2 separate regions of the Homo sapiens genome follow, and region 2 is linked to region 1. Evidence: promoter capture Hi-C in human tissues and cell types (Jung and others, 2019). All regions are on one chromosome and are shown on one strand. Each heading gives the region's core, a stretch centred on a gene start or on the middle of the fragment in contact. The rest is flanking DNA. Distances are from core to core; before and after follow the strand shown.

Region 1 (2,864 bases), core at 254-2,753:
GCTCTTAGGGCTCCTGGGGGACTTGGCTGGTGGGTGCTGGTGGGCAGCAGAAGGGGAGGGAGGGAGCAGAAGGCAGTGACTCAGTGGGGGTGGCCCTGGGACAGAACTGGGGAGGAAGCCAAGGTTGGATGATGCTTCCTGAAGCCAGGAGGGTGGGAAGAGAGGTCTGGCTGGGAGTTAGGGATGGAGCAGGACAACTCCAAGGCTCCCCTCTGGCAGCCAGACCTGCTCATGAAGAAGGCTCCTCGGTAGCTGCCTGAAAGTCTGGACTCTGGGGGCTGGGCTGGGCTGGGTGGGGAGATTGCTGTTGGTCCCACTGTGCCTGTTGTAATCCCCAGGTTCATGAAAGAGGTGCCTGCCTTAGAGCCAGGGAAGCCGTTGCACCCGGTGCCCCCTCTCCCCAGGGACCATGGGCCTGGGCACACTGTGGGGCTCAGGGTCTTCTCCTGGTCGCAGAGCTGACCTTCCCACAATCTTCCCACAAATTCTGGGGAGTGTCGGGCCAGGCCCACATGCCCTAAAGGGACCTCAAATCGCACAGCTACCCACTTGGGTAGCTTTCATCAGTTCAGGATTCCCTGACTGCGGGTGAAATGAGGGGGCAGGGCACCAACACAGCCCGAGTGCTGGCAGCGGGTGAACGTATAACACAGGGAGTCTTCCCCAGTCCTCACGGCAACCCCAGGAGAAAAATGACTTTCCATTTTTACAGGTGAGGAGGGTGAGGCTCAAAGAGCAGAGTTCCTGGAGCGCCCCCAGCAGGTAAGTGGAGAAGCCAGGCCTGGGCTGGGGGCTCTGGCTCCAGAACCCCACCTCAGCACCAGCCTCCTGCACCGGACTTTGTGGAGAAGGGGGTAAGGGGGTGCCAGGGATGGCAAAGGGGTAGAGGATCTGGTGGACTCTGGCAGGCCTGGGTCAGCTCCACCCATTGGTCTCACTCCCACCCGGATGGCAGCCCCATCCCACGTGGGATCATGCGACCTGTCTCTGGGTGCCCGCGGCGAGGCAGCACCCCGCTTCCCTACACAGAAGGCCTTCCCCTCCCGTCGGCTCATTCAGCCGCGGAAGCCCCTGGGAGACCCCGCCCCGCCCCGTCCCGCGGTGCCCCCCGCGCACTCACCCTCGCTCACCCACGCGGCCTTCCTGGCGGGAGAGCGCTTCCGGCGTCCTCGCCAGGCCCGGGGAGTGGGCACGGTGGAGCTGCCGACCGTTGGTCGCTGCCCCAACCCACGCACTGCGACGCCGCGGGTGAGGCGCGCGGTCTGCGGGGCCCGGGGGTGCGGCGGGGCGGGGCTGGCGGGCTGTCCGGGCCCACGGAGAGGACGGCGGCGGGCGGGGGTTGCTGCAGGGCCCGCACCTTGTCTTCCGCGCCGGCAGGGCTGTGCCCCGTCGAGACCTGCTCGGGCTGTGGCTCCGTCCTCCGGCCTCCAGGGGGCGGCGCGGCGCTGCGCGGCGCCCCGGCGGCACTGCCCTCCCTTCCCAGCGGCCAGGAGGCGGTGTCCCGTGACGCCGCGCGGCCGCGCTGTAGTGGCCGTCGAGGCCGCCGTCTGTTCGAAGGCTGTCCGACTTCACGGTTCCCCGCGGCTCGGCCCGGGGGCGTGAGTGTCGCCAGCGGGCGACGGGGGGGCGCGCGGTAGGCCCTGCAACAAGGCCAGGGCCTGGGGGGGCCGGCAGGAGAGCGAACCCGAGGCATCGTGGTGCCATGGCGGGGCCGCCCCCACGGGCATGGGCCTGCAGAGCGTGGCCGTGAGGACGCTGAGGGTGGGCGCGCACGGAGCAGAGGCCCACGGGCGTCCGACGGGGGACCTGGACAGAGGGACACCCTTAACGTTATTCCCTCTTCCCAGGCCTGAATTGCAGTTCCTGTGCCCTGGCACTAAGACTGGCACCTCCTGCGGCCCATGCCCTTCGCCTGCATTGCCCACTGAGTCCCACTCGACTGTCTTCAGCGCGGTTCACACTGAGACCCAGCCCTCTCCCGCTGGCCCCGAGCAGGCCCACCTTTAGGAGGGCGTGATGGAAAGGCCCCTGGAGAATGGGGATGAGTCCCCAGACTCTCAGGGCCATGCCACCGACTGGAGATTTGCTGTGTGCAGTTTCAGGGATGCCTGGGAAGAGGAGGAACCTGCTTCCCAGATGCACGTTAAGGACCCAGGTCCTCCAAGACCACCAGCCGGGGCCACCCAGGATGAGGAGCTACAGGGCAGCCCCTTGTCCAGGAAATTCCAGTTACCCCCAGCTGCAGATGAGTCGGGGGATGCCCAGAGGGGCACAGTAGAAAGCTCCTCAGTCCTGTCAGAAGGGCCAGGCCCCTCTGGAGTGGAGAGTCTCCTATGCCCCATGTCCTCCCACCTCAGCTTGGCACAGGGTGAGAGTGACACCCCAGGGGTAGGGTTGGTAGGGGACCCAGGTCCAAGCAGGGCGATGCCATCTGGCTTGAGCCCTGGGGCATTGGACAGCGACCCTGTGGGCCTTGGAGACCCTTTATCAGAAATATCAAAGCTGCTGGAGGCAGGTAAGGAAGGCTGGGCTAGGGAAGTCTGGGAAGGGAATGGGGATGCCTGGAGAGATGAGTGTCAAGACTTTGGAGGTCTCTGACCCTACTCAGGCTGAAGCCCGGGTCCAAGTAGGGGTCTCTGGATAGGTGGTCCAAGGCAGACCCAAGTCATTTCCCTTCCCAAGCCCCCAGTGGATCCGGCCTCCCTAAGCCTGCTGACTGCCTCCTGGCCCAAGACCTCTGTTGGGAGCTGCTGGCCAGTGGTATGGCCACCTTGCCAGGTAGCCAGGCGGGCCTAGAGGCGGTGGAGGTGGAGTGGCCCAATACGGCAGGAGTTCACTGCTTCCTCCCCACAGGGACTCGGGAT
Region 2 (2,700 bases), core at 176-2,675, 62 kb after region 1:
GAATAGCTTTTTTAGTTTCAAGGTTTTGGAGCTCCCTCTTCTGTTGTGTTCACAGAGTAGTGTAAAACATGACATGCTTCCTGAGATCCGTCCATTCTGCTTCCCTCCCCTATTCATATCTGGACCTTTTATTTCCTTTGCATCTATGTCCCTGTTCCATTCAGTGTAGATTCTACTCCCACTAATTTCTCCGTGGTATGGGTCTTGTCCTGAAAGGGATCTTTGGTTTATGACTATTTAAAGCTTATGGGGGCCAGGCACGGTGGCTGACGCCTGTAATCCCACCACTTTGGGAGGCCAAGTCAGGTGGATCACCTGAGGTCAGGAGTTTGAGACCAGCCTGGGTAACATGGTGAAACCCCGTCTCTACTGAAAGTACAAAAATTAGCCAGGCATAGTGGCACACACCTTAATCCCACCTACTTGGGAGGCTGAGGCAGGAGAATCACTTGAACCCAGGAGATGGAGGTTGCAGTGAGCCAAGATCGCACCATTGCACTCCAGCCTGGGTGACAAGAGTGAGATTCCATCTCAATAAATAAATAAATAATAAAATAAAATAAAGTTTATGGGACCCAGACTGCTCTAGCAACTTAAGATCTTATTTCAATGCAGTCTCCTGGCACTTATCTGCAAACTGGATTCTGTAGAACTCTCTTCCAGTTTTGGTTGCTATTCGCAGTTTGGCCTACCACCCTTGCCAGTGAGTTCTTACTGACAATTTTGAGATTCTCCCCTTTTCAGGACTGTTAATAGTCTAGTTGATGCCCAGGCTCAGTGGCTCATGCCTGTAATCCCAGCACTTTGGGAGGCTGAGGCTGAGACTGGTGGATCACCTGAGGTCAGGAGTTCAAGAGCAGCTTGGCAAAACCCCGTTTCTACCTAAAATACAAAAAATTAGCCGGGTGTGGTGGTGCACACCTGTGTTCCCAGCTACTTGGGAGGCTGAGGCAGGAGAATCTCTTGAACTTGGGAGGTGGAGGTTGCAGTGAGCTGAGATCACACCACTGCACTCCAGCTTGGGCGAAAGAGCAAGACTCCATCTCAAAAAAAATAGAAAAAAAAGTCTAGTTGACTTTTATCTACTTCTTCTCATATATGTATATTCTATATATATACTCTATAGAATATATACCACATATACTCTATAGAATATATACCACATATACTCTATAGAATATATACCACATATACTCTATAGAATATATACCACATATACTCTATAGAATATATACCACATATACTCTATAGAATATATACTACATATACTCTATAGAATATATACTACATATACTCTATAGAATATAGAATATGTACTACATATACTCTATAGAATATAGAATATGTACTACATATATTCTATAGAATATAGAATATGTATATTATATATAGAATATGTATTCTATAGAATATGTACTCTACATATTCTATAGAATATGTACTCTACATATTCTATAGAATATGTACTCTACATATTCTATAGAATATGTACTCTACATATTCTATAGAATATGTACTCTACATATTCTATAGAATATGTACTCTACATATTCTATAGAATATGTACTCTACATATTCTATATATAGATTTAATATATGTCATTTAATATATAATTTAATATATATAATTATATATAATTATATATATTCTATATATACTATAGCCTATCTATAGTCTATAGACAGTCTATAGACTATAGACTATAGACTATATATAGTCTATATATATGTTTTGTACATATGCATTAATTTAATTCTTGTAACACCTTATGAATTGAGTACCATTGTTACCCCCATTTTACAGATGAGGAAACTGATGCACAAAGAGGTTAAGTGACTTGAACAAGGTCGCAGATGTAGTATATTGTCTTTCGTATCAATGTACTATTATTTAGGCTGTCTGGCTCTATTTTTCTGCTGATGGACCTTTGACAGTTTTCTATTTCTTTCTTTTTAATTTTTTTTACTATCTTAAAACCGCTCTGAAATTGACATCCTTGTGCTATATTTTATATAACCTGCCAAAATTTTGTGGTTATTATCCATAGGGCTAAATCCTAGCAGTGGGGTTGCTGAATATCTTTTGAAATTTTGTTTTGAGAACTTTTGGAGACTTTTAGTACATCCTTCAGGGAAATTAGAAAAACTCAAGGGCTCTATAAAACTAAGGTTCAATGTCACTATATTAGACCATACTGCTGCTTTTAAAAAGAAGATCTGATCTTATGAGGCTTGGATGTAGGGCCTTGCACAGTTGAGATATGGGAGGAAGAAAGGCCTACTTTCACTGACTCTGCTGTTGATCCGAGCAGGGATCATAATATATCTACTGATGATCTCTTTTCAGAACTGGTGGAGTCTCTTTCATTGCAGGGATCTTATGCTGGCAAAATCCATTCCATTGGTGATGCCTTCAGAAATTTTAAAAATCTCCGATCCTTAGATTTATCAAGGAATTTGATCACTAGCCTTAAGGTAAGTTATATATTCTATGACCAGCCAGGTCTGCCCAATTTATTTTTTTGATGGGAAGAAATAAGAGATAGATCATGTCATCCTGGGGAATATAAGACCTTCCCTTTAAATGATTCCCAACTAAATTTAATTATTTCTTATAAAATTCTTTCAACTTTGCAGTATATTTTAAATTGTTATAAAATATTGGGAGGGCAATTTATTTTATACTCTCGGAAAACTATA

What was found. Contacts are between HindIII fragments. The study calls those that stand out against the background at their distance.
Region 2: a contact is called between a fragment that was not itself captured here and the fragment with the promoter of PLEKHG4 in region 1, in 2 of the 25 tissues and cell types used here (mesenchymal stem cells and spleen).

What each region holds. Positions count from the first base shown.
Region 1 is chr16:67,278,029-67,280,892 of GRCh38, forward strand. PLEKHG4 (pleckstrin homology and RhoGEF domain containing G4) reads left to right here and starts at 1,504. Exons shown (of 22, transcript NM_001129729.3): 1 at 1,504-1,598; 2 at 1,848-2,515; 3 at 2,683-2,778; 4 at 2,854-2,864. The coding sequence starts at 2,017. LOC124903701 (a long non-coding RNA gene) reads right to left here and starts at 1,383. Exons shown (of 3, transcript XR_007065092.1): 1 at 1,121-1,383. RefSeq lists silencers at 997-1,156, 1,207-1,636, 1,356-1,537. The HindIII fragment of the contact is 17,100 bases long and covers 1-2,864 here.
Region 2 is chr16:67,339,610-67,342,309 of GRCh38, forward strand. LRRC36 (leucine rich repeat containing 36) reads left to right here. Exons shown (of 14, transcript NM_018296.6): 2 at 2,348-2,475. Among named protein-coding and RNA genes, the nearest start is that of LRRC36, 14 kb to the left of the region's middle. The HindIII fragment of the contact is 3,387 bases long and covers 1-2,700 here.